Regions from separate parts of the Homo sapiens genome. Here regions 2 and 3 are each linked to region 1. The links are contacts of gene promoters, found by promoter capture Hi-C in human tissues and cell types (Jung and others, 2019). All regions are on one chromosome and are shown on one strand. The core of a region is centred on a gene start or on the middle of the fragment in contact, and the rest is flanking DNA. Distances in the headings are between cores, read along the strand shown.

What was found. Contacts are between HindIII fragments. The study calls those that stand out against the background at their distance.
Region 2: a fragment that was not itself captured here is called in contact with the fragment with the promoter of DPM3 in region 1 in 1 of the 25 tissues and cell types used here (hippocampus).
Region 3: a fragment that was not itself captured here is called in contact with the fragment with the promoter of DPM3 in region 1 in 1 of the 25 tissues and cell types used here (dorsolateral prefrontal cortex).

Annotation. Positions count from the first base shown.
Region 1 is chr1:155,137,660-155,142,440 of GRCh38, forward strand. It overlaps DPM3 (dolichyl-phosphate mannosyltransferase subunit 3, regulatory), which reads right to left and starts at 2,872. Exons shown (of 2, transcript NM_153741.2): 1 at 2,832-2,872; 2 at 2,232-2,586. The coding sequence starts at 2,581. The coding sequence ends at 2,303. SLC50A1 (solute carrier family 50 member 1) reads left to right here. Exons shown (of 6, transcript NM_018845.4): 4 at 1-63; 5 at 320-439; 6 at 521-1,194. The coding sequence ends at 622. RefSeq lists enhancers at 2,812-2,941, 3,112-3,171. The HindIII fragment of the contact is 27,453 bases long and covers 522-4,781 here.
Region 2 is chr1:155,860,020-155,864,800 of GRCh38, forward strand. All of the region lies in intron 1 of SYT11 (synaptotagmin 11), which reads left to right. Among named protein-coding and RNA genes, the nearest start is that of SYT11, 2.8 kb to the left of the region's middle. The HindIII fragment of the contact is 3,807 bases long and covers 284-4,090 here.
Region 3 is chr1:154,599,635-154,604,415 of GRCh38, forward strand. ADAR (adenosine deaminase RNA specific) reads right to left here. Exons shown (of 15, transcript NM_001111.5): 2 at 1,407-2,992. Among named protein-coding and RNA genes, the nearest start is that of ADAR, 6.2 kb to the right of the region's middle. The HindIII fragment of the contact is 4,304 bases long and covers 387-4,690 here.

The DNA of each region.
Region 1 (4,781 bases), core at 1,622-4,121:
CAGTTGGGCCTCTTCTGCAGTGTCTTCACCATCAGCATGTACCTCTCACCACTGGCTGACTTGGTGAGTGGGGGTGTCCAAGGAGGTAGGAGAGATAAGAGTCAGGCTCTCATAGCCAAATACTATGGCTTACAGTCCCGAGGAAGGGGAGATCCAAACCCTGGAAGAAGACAAGGCAGTAGAAGTGGGCGAGTGGGAGGCAGGAAAGGTTGGGTGACAGATCAGGGAGGGTGTCTGACCTTTTTCTTGAGGAAATTCTTAGGCAAGTGAAGCTTTACGATGTGCTTGGGCCAAGAGAGTCTTCCATTCTTTCCCACAGGCTAAGGTGATTCAAACTAAATCAACCCAATGTCTCTCCTACCCACTCACCATTGCTACCCTTCTCACCTCTGCCTCCTGGTGCCTCTATGGGTTTCGACTCAGAGATCCCTATATCATGGTAAGCACAACTGGGATGGGGTGACAGGGGTGCAAGATGGAAAACTGGCTCCTCTCCTCATAGCAGTTCTTGTGATTTCAGGTGTCCAACTTTCCAGGAATCGTCACCAGCTTTATCCGCTTCTGGCTTTTCTGGAAGTACCCCCAGGAGCAAGACAGGAACTACTGGCTCCTGCAAACCTGAGGCTGCTCATCTGACCACTGGGCACCTTAGTGCCAACCTGAACCAAAGAGACCTCCTTGTTTCAGCTGGGCCTGCTGTCCAGCTTCCCAGGTGCAGTGGGTTGTGGGAACAAGAGATGACTTTGAGGATAAAAGGACCAAAGAAAAAGCTTTACTTAGATGATTGATTGGGGCCTAGGAGATGAAATCACTTTTTATTTTTTAGAGATTTTTTTTTTTAATTTTGGAGGTTGGGGTGCAATCTTTAGAATATGCCTTAAAAGGCCGGGCGCGGTGGCTCACGCCTGTAATCCCAGCACTTTGGGAGGCCAAGGTGGGCGGATCGCCTGAGGTCAGGAGTTCAAGACCAACCTGACTAACATGGTGAAACCCCATCTCTACTAAAAATACAAAATTAGCCAGGCATGATGGCACATGCCTGTAATCCCAGATACTTGGGAGGCTGAGGCAGGAGAATTGCTTGAACCCAGGAGGTGGAGGTTGCAGTGAGCTGAGATCGTGCCATTGTGATATGAATATGCCTTATATGCTGATATGAATATGCCTTAAAATAAAGTGTTCCCCACCCCTGCCCACGATGGTTCATTCTCTACTCATAATTCTAAACCTGCCTGGTTTGGTGAAGGATAGATCCACAGTTATTCTCAGGTTGGTAGGGTAGGCTCAGAAAAGGTATCTCAAAGAACCAAAAGGTTGGAAAGACCCAGGAAGGCCTTAAAAATAACAAAACTTGGATGTTATGAAGAATGGAACTTAGGCTTCAAGAAAGTACTTCTGGCCGGGTAAGGTGGCTTATGTCTGTAATCACAGCACTTTGGGAGGCCCAGGCAGGAGGATCACTTGAGCCCAGGAGTTTGAGAACAGCCTGAGCAACACAGCGAGACCCTGTCACTACAAAAAATTAAACATTAGCCTGGTGGCGTGGTGGCATATGCCTGTAGTCCCAGCTACTCTGGAGGCTGAGGTGGGAGAACTGTTTGAGCCTGGGAGGGTGAGGCTGCAGTGAGCCATGATTGCACCACTGCACTCCAGCCTGGGCAACAGAGTGAGACCCTGTCTCAAAAAAAAAAAAAAAAAGAAGTAGTACGCCGGGCGCGGTGACTCACACCTGTAATCCCAGCACTTTGGGAGGCCGAGGCGGGCGGATTACGAGGTCAGGAGATCAGACCATCCTGGCCAACACGGTGAAACCCCGACTCTACTAAAAATACAAAAAATTAGCCAGGCGTGGTGGCAGGCGCCTGTAGTCCCAGCTACTCAGGAGGCTGAGGCAGGAGAATGGCGTGAACCCGGGAGGCGGAGCTTGCAGTGAGCCGAGATCACGCCACTGCACTCCAGCCTGGACGACAGAGCAAGGCTCCGTCTCAAAAAAAAAAAAAAAGAAGTACTTCCTACAGGGTTGAAAGGACCAGGAAAGTGAAATGTCATTTCCATCCTGAGAAATATTGAGAAGGGGTCTTTGCCTCCTTGGGAGCAAAAATGGGAACACCAGCAAGATGCAAAGATAAAGGCTGAGATGGCCTCAAGAAGGTGGTTCTTTCACATTCACTTCTCGACCGTTAGTACATAGAATCCCCAATACCCGTTTTCCATACTCAAACTAAACGAAGTTAGAAAATAAACTGGCTCTTTAATGGGAAATGGGAGGAAGGGCTGTCCGCACAGGAATGGGGTTAGGCTGTCAGAAGCGCAGCCCCCTGCGGGCTAAGTCGGCTCGGGCCTCCTGTATCTGGCTCTGCAGCTCGCGTGCGGCGTCCTCGCAGTCATGAAAAGTGGCCACACGATAGCCCACAGTGCCCAGGGCATAGCAGCCGGCGGACACCAGCAAGTAGGCGGGCAGTGGCCACAGGACTTCCTGGCAGGACAAGGGCAGCTCCAGGCCCAAGGCTCCCGTGGTCAGGGCCACCCAGGTGGAGCCCAGGATCGCTAGTCCCCAAAGCCACTGCGCTAATTTCGTCATGGTCACTGCGAGAGAAGGAAGCAATGCTCCCCTGAGGAGCAGAAAGGAAAAGCGGACCAAACTCAACCGAAGCCCGCCCACGGAGAGCATTAAAACCAGCCCTGGCCAGAGGGGAATCGCCGATCCCAGAGGTCCGAACTTGAGTGCCCACAAAAGGTGGAAGGGCCCCTTCCACCTTGCTACCCCCTCTATATTTGAGACCCACTCCCCATCTCTCGCCCTCCCCATTCAGCCTTCAACCTACACTTACCTCTACCCCACGTCTCCCCTTCCCCGCGCGGCCCGGATGTTGGCGTCCGGAAGTCCTCCCTGGTTCACGTTCCGCTTCCGCGCGGCCTTCTGGGAGTTGTAGTTCACATGGCGGCGCCTGGTGTACTCCTGGCCAGCGCCTCAATCTAGGCGGGGGTACAGTGGGCTGTGCTCCGCAAACGGGGAGCAGGCCGGGTCTGGAGAGGCCTCGGCGCTGCTTTCCCACCTTGGGCTACGCTCCAGGCTGGCGTGGGGCTTGAGGACATCCTTAAATGTTGCAACAAGATGGGAATATAATACCATTCCCCTTAAACTCAATTCTCCAGCGCTGAAATCCATTCCTTCATTCACTAGTTCATTCATTCGAAGATTTCTTTCTTTCCATTCTTGACAGGGTCTCTCTATAGTGCCTAGGCGGGACAGAACTCCTTTTTTTTTTTTTTTTTTTTTTTTTTTTTTTTGAGACAAAGTCTCGCTCTGTTGCCCATGCTGGAGTACAGTGGCTCGATCTCAGCTCACTGCAACCTCTGTCTCCCGAGCAGCTGGGATTACAGGCGCGCGCCACCACGCCGGGCTAATTTTTTTATTTTTAGCAGAGAACGGGGATTTCACTATGTTGGCCAGGCTGGTCTCAAACTCCTGACCTCAAGTGACTGGCCCACCTCAGCCTTCCAAAGTGCTAGGATTACAGGCATGAGCCACAGCGCCCGGCCAGAACATTTCTTGATTACCATGATAGACTTTGGAGATACAGAGATGTCAAGAGACTCGACCCCTTTCAGGTGGAGGGGGAAAGCAGGAGTCAGTGAAGCAGTTGCATTGACAACTAACCATGAAGGCTTGAGATTATTGTTAGAACAGAGGTAGTCATATTTTTACAAGGACAACAACCAATATAACTTGGAGCCAGAGGAAGAAGGGCTCCAGGAGTCTGGGTTTCAAAAAAAAAGAAAAGAAAAGAAAGACCAGAAGAATTACCTGAAGTGGTGAAGGCATTGAAAGAAAGAGTATAATTCTTTAGAACAGTTTTGGGGATGAATTTATTATGTATAGAGAGAAAGAGAGAGAGAGAACAAAGTAAGAGAAAAGGTTAGGCAATTATCAACTTCAGAGGAAACAAAGAGTTATATAAGAAAGGAAAGACAATTGATAAGCCTGTCTTATAAAGACCACATCTGTAGTTTGACAGTTAGGTTTATTAACTTGCCACAACAGAGAGATCACACACTAGAAGAACTGTGGGGCAACTCATTAAAAAGGAAGAAATATGGTCATTCAGATGATATGGTTTGGCTGTGTCCCCACCCAAATTTCAAGTTGATGTGTATCTCCCAGAATTCCCACGTGCGAGGGACCTAAGGGGAGGTAATTGAATCACGGGGGCCAGACTTTCCCGTGCTATTTTCATGATAGTGAATAAGTCTCACAAGATCTGATGAGTTCATCAGGGGTTTCTGCTTTTGCTTCTTCCTCATTTTTCTCTTGCCACCGCCATGTAAGAAGTGCCTTTGTCTCCCGCCATGATTCTGAGGCCTCCCCAGCAATGTGGAACTGTAAGTCCAATTAAACCTCTTTTTGTTTGCAGTTTCGGGTATGTCTTTATCAGTAATGTGAAAATGAACTAATACAACAGGATATGGGAAAGGCTTGACTTTAAAATTTATATTTTAAAATTTATTTACTTATTTATTTAGAGTTGAAGTCTCGGTATGTTGCCCAGGCGAAGCTCAAACTTCTGGGCTCAAGTGATCCTCCTGCCTCAGCCTCCCAAGTGGCTGATACTATAGGCTAGCTAAAATTTAAATGAAACAGTGTTTTGATCGGTTCGAGGTAAGCATAACTTTAAGTGAAGGGATCAAGAAGTCCAAGCTGAGGGACCACTTGGAAATTACAAAGTCAAGATAAATATAGAATATAGTGTCCAAAAACCCACTATCTAGGCTGGGCACAG
Region 2 (4,781 bases), core at 937-3,436, 720 kb after region 1:
GGGGAAGTCCAGGATGCTAAAACCTTGTATGGTGCACTGTCAGCACTGCTGGAGGTGAGAAACAGCAAGCGTGCGGAGGATGTGAACCCCTCCTTCTGGGGGAGGAGAGGTGGGGTAGGCCAAGCCCTCCCCCTTGGGGCACACAGGGCGGTGCCCCTTCCTCCCCCTCCCATTCCTAAGGGCTGCGGGGGAGGGAAGTGACAAGGGGGATGGGGCATCAAGATGGCAGCTTGGAGACTGTGGGCCGTGTGGCTGGCAGCCAGGGGAGGCGGCGGCCTCTGGGGAAAGAGGGGTGCGGGGTGGGGAGCAAAAAGGAAGCCACTCCTTAAGCCGGTCAGCTGGATGCTGGGGCTAGGAGGAAACGTGAGCCCTGCAAGCTCCATTCCGCATCGTAATGGTGGGGTCCCTCCGATGCTACCAAATGGCGCTTGGCGCTGCTGGGCTGGGGGATGACGTGATGTCTATTTCTGGGCCTCCTGGCAGCGCCGACGCTCTCCTTCCGGGGCCTTTGTTCCCTGTTTCCCTGGGCCGCCTTTTCAAAAAGGGGGACTGACCAGCGTTGATGCTGGCGGGGGCGCGATCCAGGCCGGAGGGGGAGGGGCGAAAGAGGCCCAGCCCGGGGGAGGCCGCTTTGTGTACCGCAGAAAGCATTACGTCATTTCAGAGCGGCTGGTCCCCGACCCAGCCCTGTGGGCTCCAAGATTAGTTTTACACTCTCTGGAGCAGAAAGTGGAGTGGAAAATAGGGAAGAAGGTGGCAAAGACAAGCTTGAGAAGGAAGTTTTTTCCTCTTTGGGGACTCCTGCAGTATATGCTAAAGGAGCAAACTTCCTGTGTTATGCTTTCCTGATCAAATAAATAAAATATAATTGCCCTGCTTCTCCTTGATTCAGTTTAGATGGGGGAAGCCAGTGAGAGTTGCTGCCAAAGAACCTTCTTATTCCTTCAGGGATTCTATCCCTCAGACAATCCAGTAGGTTTGAGCATCGGGACTCCAGTTTTTAGGGTGGAGACACAATCCAGCTAGGAAATGGCTTTTCTCATTCCTGAATAAGAGGTACAGTGAAATGAGCAGAATCCAGTGTGCTCTATCCCCTCAGAATAAGGAAGAAGAAATCAAATCAGATGTGTTCAGATAACTGATCTTCACACTCATTAACTACTTGTTCTCACTTATTCCACAAGGCTAAATCTTGATGGTATTTTTTCTTCCACTTCACCTTCCGCATCTTTATTCTTTGAGTTCTAAGTTTCCAAAACAAAAGTCCCTTTCATGATCACATGAGCAATCCATGATTTCTTCCTGTTCTTTTTCTTCTTATTCCCTTCCAACAGATTCCTTTCTCTAACTGCAGTTCCAGAATCCTTGAAAAAAGGAGATGGTGTGGAACATAATATAGTGATTTCTCTTAGAGGGACTATTATTGGGAAAGGGAAAATAAATTATATCAGCCTGTTACATACTACATTTTATTTAATCCTAACAAATACCCTCGAGTGTATGTATTATTATATATACTTGCCAGACAAGGAAACCAAAGCTCAGAAATAAAATAACTTGGCTAAAGCCAAACAAATGACTAAAGGTAGCACTAGTTTGTTTTTGTTTTTGTTTTTGAGACGGAGTTTCGATCTTGTTGCCCAGGTTGGAGTGCAATGGCGTGATCTTGGCCCACCACAACCTCTGCCTCCTGGGTTCAAGCGATTATCCTGCCTCAGCCTCCCAAGTAGCTGGGATTACAGACAAGTGCCACCACACCCAGCTAATTTTGTATTTTTAGTAGAGATGGGGTTTCTCCATGTTGGTCAGGCTGGTCTTGAACTCCCGACCTCAGGTGATCTGCCTACCTTGGCCTCCCAAAGTCCTGGGATTACAGGTGTGAGCCACTGCACCTGGCCAATGCTAGGATTTAAACCAATGTCTGGCTGAAGCCAAAATTTATTCTCATTCCATTGTATTATATTTGTCTACTTGACTGCGAAAAGCTATGTTTAGGAAAGGGGGTGTCAATAAAAGCAGTTCTGGTCAGAAGCTGAAGGAGCTGGCCAATAGCCCAGATGTGTCTTGCAGGTCTTTAAACCATTACAGAGGATCTCCTACATAGAGAACTACCACTTCCAACTTTTTCACATCTCATAGAGTACTTCATTTCAAATGCCACAGCACTTGGGTGATACACCAAGCCAACACTCAATTATCCATGACCATGAAGGACAAAAGGAGCGAGAAGCACAGGTCACTGCAATTTATAGCTACTTTAAAACACTCACTTCAGCCATTAGTTTCAACTTCCATTTCCCACCAAGCTTTGGACTAAAGCAAGACAGAGAGCTCTAGGTTTTAATATCTTTGATGATTCTAGCTCATTGTCTTGGTTTCAGGGAGAGAGGCAAGAGTTAACAAATACTAAAATGAAGAAAGAACAGCAAAAATAGGAAACAAGGCCAGGGGGAACAACTAGATAATTCAAAGATGCGTTCATCTGTTTCTCTTCTTTTCCTTCTCTATCCTCCTGGAATATGAGAATTCTTCATCTTCTCTCTTTTCTACCCTATCTCCATTTTCTAACAATAAAAGTTGATGCATTGTAAATATGTAAGCAGCAGTGGGTTGCCCCCCGCTCCTCCACCGCACTGCTGCAGGGAATAAATCTATGATAGAGCCAAAAGAATTGCCCAGGTGTCTCCTAATCTAAGCCTTCAGATCTCTCTTTATGATCATTCCAAAAAATATGCCTGTCTTGGTAGTTTGCTGTGTTCCTCTTCTCATAGAGACAGTGTTCAGTTTCACTAATGAGTAGCAAACAATTTGCAGGAAAGCACCTGATTGATGAATGGAGAGCCACTTCCTTAGGCTGTGCCCATTCTTAATGGCAACTGAATCCAATTAGTTGTTCAACCAAATATTTACTGAACTCCTATTAGAAGCAAGAGACTCTTGAGGGATTCAAAGATCCATAGGATATTGTTCCTGCCTGCCTTCAAGTAGCTTACTACCAAGGCTGTCTCCATTTTGTGAAAACTTTCCCTAAAAGCTATTTCATTTAATACTTTGAGACTAAACACTATTATTATTCGGTATGGATATAGACATGGTCACCTTGATTTATTTTGTTAATAATGTTTTGCTCCTTATCTATATTATTTTAAAATGTACCCGGGTACAGTGGGTCGTGCTTATAATTCCAGCGACTCAAGAGACTGAGGCAAGAGGATCTTGAGGCCAGGAATTCAAAACCAGACTGGGCAACATAGCACCTTGTCTCTAAAAAAAATTTTTTTTAATTAGCCAGGCATAGTGGCATGGTCCTGTAGTCCCAGCTATTCAGGAGTCTAGGGTAGTAAGATTGCTTGAGCCCAGGAGTTCAAGGCTGCAGTGAGCTGTGATTGCACCACTGCACTCCAGCCTGGGCCACAGAGTGAGACCACGTCTCTAAAAAAATAATAACAATAAATATATATTTTAAATAAAATGTAACTCTTCCTTGGTTAGGCATGGTGGCTTGCACCTGTAATCCCAGCAATTTGGTGGAGACTAAAGCAGAATTGCTTGAGCCCAGGAGTTCAAGACCACCTGGGCAATATAGTGAAGACTCATCTCTAAAAAAAATTTAAAAATTAGCTGGGCATGGTGGCTCATGCCTGTAATCCTAGCACTTTGGGGGGCCAAGGCTGGCAGATCACTTGAGGTCAGGAGTTCGAGACCAGCGTGGCCAATATGGTGAAACCCCGTCTCTACTAAAAATACAAAAACTGGCCAGGTGTAGTGGCATGTGCTGGTAATCCCAGCTACTCAGGAAGCTGAGGCAGGAGAATCACTTGAACCAGGGAGGCAGAGGTTGCAGTGAGCCGAGATCGCGCCATTGCACTCAAGTCTGGGCAAAGCAAGACTCCATCTCAAAAAAAAAAAAAATTAACCAGGCATGATGGCACATGCCTGTAGTCCTAGTTCCTCAGGAGGCTGAGGCAAGAAGATCATTTGAACTGGGGAGGTCAAAGCTTCAGTAAGCTGCGATCATGCATGCCACTGCACTCCAGCCTGAGTGACATGGTGAAATTCCATCTCTGCAAAAAATACGAAAATTAGCCAGGTGTGATGGCATGTGCCTGTAGTCCCAGCTACTCAGGAGGCTGAGGCAGGAGGATCACTTGAGCCCAGGTGGTGGAGGTTGCAGTGGGCCAAGCTTGTGCCACTGCACTCCAGCCTAGGCAATAAAATGAGACGCTGTCTCAAAAGAAATAAAAAAAGTAAGCTCTACCACAATGCCTGGCAGGGACATATAAATTTACACAAAAAATAGCAATTTTATTATTGTCACTGCTATACACAATATTACATGTATATTATGACCAGTGCAGATGAAATTATACCTGCCTCTCATGTAATCTGGACATTATGCTCATAGTATTGTGCTCATGATGCTCATAGGCTTTCTAGAGAAGATAAACCCTTCATCTAGGTTTGGAGGGAAGAAAAAGCCATGGATTGGTTGGAGAGGATAGGAGAGGATACCTCTAATAGAAGGGAAAACAGTAGGCATTATACTAATTATAGTCCAAGATTGTGGTTGCCTAAATTCCTAAGTCATTTTTGACTCATCAAGTGAGGTTATTGACTATAAATAGGTTTTTGAGTCCAAATAGAAATTTACATTTATCCCTGATATATGTAATCATCTTGACTCAATCCTTTTTTTTTTTTTTTTTTTTGAGATGGAGTCTCACTCTGTCACCCAGAATGGAGTGCAGTAGCACAATCTCAGCTCACTGCAGCCTCCGCCT
Region 3 (4,781 bases), core at 1,289-3,788, 540 kb before region 1:
CAGTGGAATTCTCCCCCATCCTACTGGCTCTTTCCCTGGCTGCAGCTGCAGCCACTCAGCTTCAGTGGTTTTGCTCTCTGTTATGCCCTTCAGAAGCTCCTGTTTTCCTCAATCTGTCCACTGGCCTATTAGGACCTACAGTGCAGGGCCTGACCAGCTATCTGAGTGAGGTAAAGGCTGACTTCACAGCTCAGGAGTGGCAGCAAGTGCTAGCCTACCCATCTGTGCAGAGGAGGTTTATAAAATTAGAACCACCACCTTCAACAGGCAGGCAGCCGTGCACACGCTCCTCCATCCTTTCCCCCCAGGAGCTATGCAGAGGGGGGATTGTGGACCTGCTGCTGCTTAGCAGCACAACCCACCCCCACTGTGTATGCAGCCTGCCCCAACCCACCTGCTCCTGCACCTCTCTCAGAAAACGGCTTAGGGAGGAGGGGAAGGCCTACAGAAGGGAATTAAGTCTTCATTACCTCTGCCTTAGGAGGCAGGCATGATATTGATGCATGGAGATCAATCATGTTTTTCTTTTTTCTTTCTTTTTCCAAGATGGAGTCTCACTCTGTCGCCCAGGCTGGAGTGCAGTGGCGCCAATCTCGGCTCACTACAACCTCCACCTCCTGGGTTCAAGTGATTCTCCTGCCTCAGCCTCCCGAGTAGCTGGGATTACAGGCAAGCACCACCACCCCCAGCTAATTTTTGTATTTTTAGTAGAGATGGGGTTTCACCATGTTGGCCAGGCTGGTCTCGAATTCCTCACCTCATGATCTGCCTGCCTTGGCCTCCCAAAGTGCTGGGATTACAGTCGTAAGCCACCGCCCCGGCCCCCAAGACCAATCATTTCTTTCTTTTTTTTTTTTGAGATGGAGTCTTGCTCTGTGGCCCAGGCTGGAGTGCAGTGGCGCAATCTCAGTTCACTGCAACCTCTGCCTCCTGGGTTCAAGTGATTCTCCTGTCTCAGCTTCCTGAGTAGCTGGGACTACAGGTGCACGCCACCACGCCCAGCTAATTTTTGTATTTTTAGTAGAGACAGGGTTTCACCATGTTGGCCAGGCTGGTCTCAAACTCCTGACCTCGTGATATGCCTGCCTCGGCCTCAAAAAGTGCTGGGATTACAGGCATGAGCCACCGCGTACGGCCAAAACCAATCATTTCTAAAGAAGCTTCATTACAGCCAACAGAGTCAACCTCCCCCTTGTTCAGCCAAGATTCTGGCTGGTCCAAGGTCTATATTCCCTGCTCAATATCTGGAGAAAGGGCCAATCAAGGGGAATTTAGCTAAAAGGCAGAAGGGAAGGAGGAAAAGATAGGCGCCACCAAACAGCACTGCTCACAAATCAGCCAAGACTGCGTCAGGAGCAAAAGCACCTGACCCCAACCCTAGGTACAGTTCCTGGGTGGTCTCTTACCGAGGTTCATGGGGTGGTCCACTCTGCTCTATCATGTTGAACTCACAGGTTTGACTAGCGAACTGGGCATATTCTAACAGCCCGCTGATGGGGTTCTTCAGCTGGCACTCTGTCAGTTTCTTGTAGGGTGAACACCGTGGCAAGCCATGACTGTAGAAGGAGGGCATCTCCATGATGGCTCGAAACTCACCTGGTGCTGCGCGGATACTATTCAAGTCATCTGGGATGTCATCTGTGGCCCACTGGCCATTTTCAAAGTCAACATACCCTGCTTTTGAGGGGCCATTGTAATGAACAGGTGGTTTCAGTCTTGCTGGTTCTGGTCTGGCCTCTTGCCTGTTTTCTAACTTTATGACAGGTTCCTGCCCATTCTCCACTTTTTCTGTGGTTACCATGTTATTTGAGGCATTTGATGTGGGTATATTACAGGTGAGGAACTCTGCGTTTCTTTTGGTCTCAGGGATTGCAGCTGGAGCGGTTTCAGGAACACTGTTCGTATTTCTCTTGATTTGCATCCTCTCTCGCTTCTTGTCTGTCAAATGCCATATGGGAGGGGTTGTCCCTTGTCTATAGACATCCCCCTGCCTTTCCATGTCAATTAGCACAGCATTTATATCTCGGGCCTTGGTAAGGCCAATATTTTTAGCCAAATTCAGGGCAGAGGAGTCAGACACATTGAAGAGATAGTCGCAGATTTTCTCCTTGATCTCGGCCATGTCTAAAAACTCAAGAGGATCTTCCAAGGCAGATGTGGAGTTGCTGTCTTCAGGTTCCAAACCTGGGTCTGAGTTTGGGGATCCTTGGCTATGACTGTCTGGTCTTACCACTCCGCTGTGCTGGTTCCAAGCCTGAGCTGAGACTGCAATAAAAGGCTCAAGAAGATCTTCTGAGACAGATGTGGAGTTTCTGTCTTCCGGTTCCAAACTCGGGTCTGAGTTTGGGGCTCCTTGGCTATGACCGTCTGGTCTTACCACTCCGCTGTGCTGGTTCCAAGCCTGAGTGGAGACCGCGATTTTCCACAAAGGGGGTGTTCCTGCCTCTTTCTGTAGCTTGCCCTTCTTTGCCAGGGAGTATAAAACTCGATTGATTTCTTTCTTCGGAGTCCCAAGTTTCCCAGACAGATCATGTGCTGTGGTGGCCTTCCCTTCCCCAAGCTCTTCCAGGAACTTTAAGATCCTTTGTTCCTGATCTTGGTAGATACTCAGTTCCTGGAAATGTGAGGAAAGGCAATCAACACCTCTCTGTGGCAGACTCCTGCCACGTGGTGAAGGATGCTGGAACCCTCTCTGGAGCCCCTGACTTCTGAGATGCACGCCCCTGGGGACACCCCTGATGTCCACTTGCCTGCCTCTGGTACTGGAGGCAAGTAGTACTGGAAACCTTGGCCGGAGTCCTGGGAGGGAAGGTGGCAGTGACGGTGTCTGCTTTCCAATCACCGGTGCTTCTGGGAGCTGCCCCTTGAGAAATTCTATTTGCTTAAGCAGGAAACTACTGGGGGAAGATCCTGGCCCAGGCTGCTGGTACCTGAGCTGTCTGTGCTCATAGCCTTGAAATGGATGGGTGTAGTATCCGCTGAGGGAATACCCCTGCAGAATAAGACAGTGGAAAAAGAAAATGAATTAGGGCTGCAGTGGTGAACCTGTGGAGGCCCCTCCCTTTGCTGCCTGTGGAACAGCCCTTGAAGGGCTGAGAAGGCAATTGAGCCATGGGCTTATGACTTGGCTAGGGTGACTTGCCTACCTCCTAAATCCTGCCTAGGGGCCTGCCAACAGGAACACAGAGAGGGGAGCAGGAGGCAAAGCACGCAGAACTTCCAGGAATACAGAGGTTCTGAGGCCTCAGCATAGCCTCTCCAGCAACCTAACTTACTTTTCCCTTTGACAGAATTTAAGGGAGTTGAGAAGGTAATTTTCTAGTTACCAAAACAATTACCCCTTTAAAATCAGAACAACAAATATATGTTATTGTTTTGAAAACAAAAACAGAATAACCTGAAATAACCAGAACAATCACATGAAATAACAATAACCAAGGGAGATGGGACTAGGGAAGGGACGAGATGACCTCTCCTTAAGTCAGGCTCACCAGTGCACCCCTTGCCCACCTGTCTCTAAGATCTATCGTTTAGATGACTATGACAAAAGAAGAAATGTGATTGGATGAAACTGAACCCCAGTCCTCCAAGGCTGTAACAGCGCAGTAACGAAAACAATCTCCAGGTGGGAAAAGGCCACGGGACCTCAGAGTCATCTCTGTGGCTCTTCACTGCCATCCCAGGAGGATCAGAATTTGGTCTTCAGGGAGCTGGAGGGTTTCCTGATAAAAATGGCACACTGTCCTCACTCTTCAGTGTGGTACCCAGGCTCAGAAGGGATGCCAGAGACTTTTGCCCAAACCACCCAGGCTCTCCTGGATGTGTGGAGCTGGCAGCATCTGCTCCTCACCACCTCAGACCAGTCCTACCTTCCCTAGCTACTTCCCCATAGCTGCTTCCACTGCACGTTCTTCTGAACCCTGACGGACAGGGCACAAGCAACCCCATGTTCTCATATGCACATTTACCAGAACACCAAGCACCTGTGACCCCTTTCCCCACCCACCCACCTGCAAACCAGTACTGTCTTCTCCCCAGGGCTGTTCACTGGAGGGTGATGGAGCCAGGAAGTACTTATAAGCCTGGGGGTGTCAGTAAACACCTTGCTTCCTTTCCCTGGGGCTTGTAGACTGGGAGGAGGGATTCTGACAACATTTACTCACACTCACCGCCCCCTCCTCAGACTCTCCTGGAGGCTGCACAGGTAGAGGTGGGACCCTTTCTTCCATAACTCTAGCCTTCTACTCTTCCACATCCTGACACACTTAGGGGATTTCAGCATTCTTGTCAATCACTCTCATGGTGTCCTGGCTACAAGGATCCTTAACCCAGTGATCTCCATCCCTACCTTTCTGCCACACAATTGGCTTGTCTAGCTACTCCTTCAATCTCACTATGACTCTAACCTAGGCCATCACACCAAGACCTCAAATCCTGCAACTCTTTTCCAGTGGCTGATAAACTTTTTCTATAAAGGGCCAGACAGCTCTGCCACTGTAGCACAAAAACAGCCTCACACAATATGCAAAACTTTATTTACAATTCATTTACCATGAAGCTTTATTTATAAAAACAGGTAGTTTGTACCTGTGGGCCATAGTTTCTTGACTCCTGCTCTTTTCTGATGGTGACTTCCCTGTGTTTCTACAACTTCACTCCTTACTCTGGTGGAACCTGCTCCTCGCATGACCCCGGTGAAGCTGCCAGTAAGCCACCCTGATTCTTCCCCACTCTGACTTCACACACCTCCTCACCCCACCTGGATCTCATGGTCAGTTCCC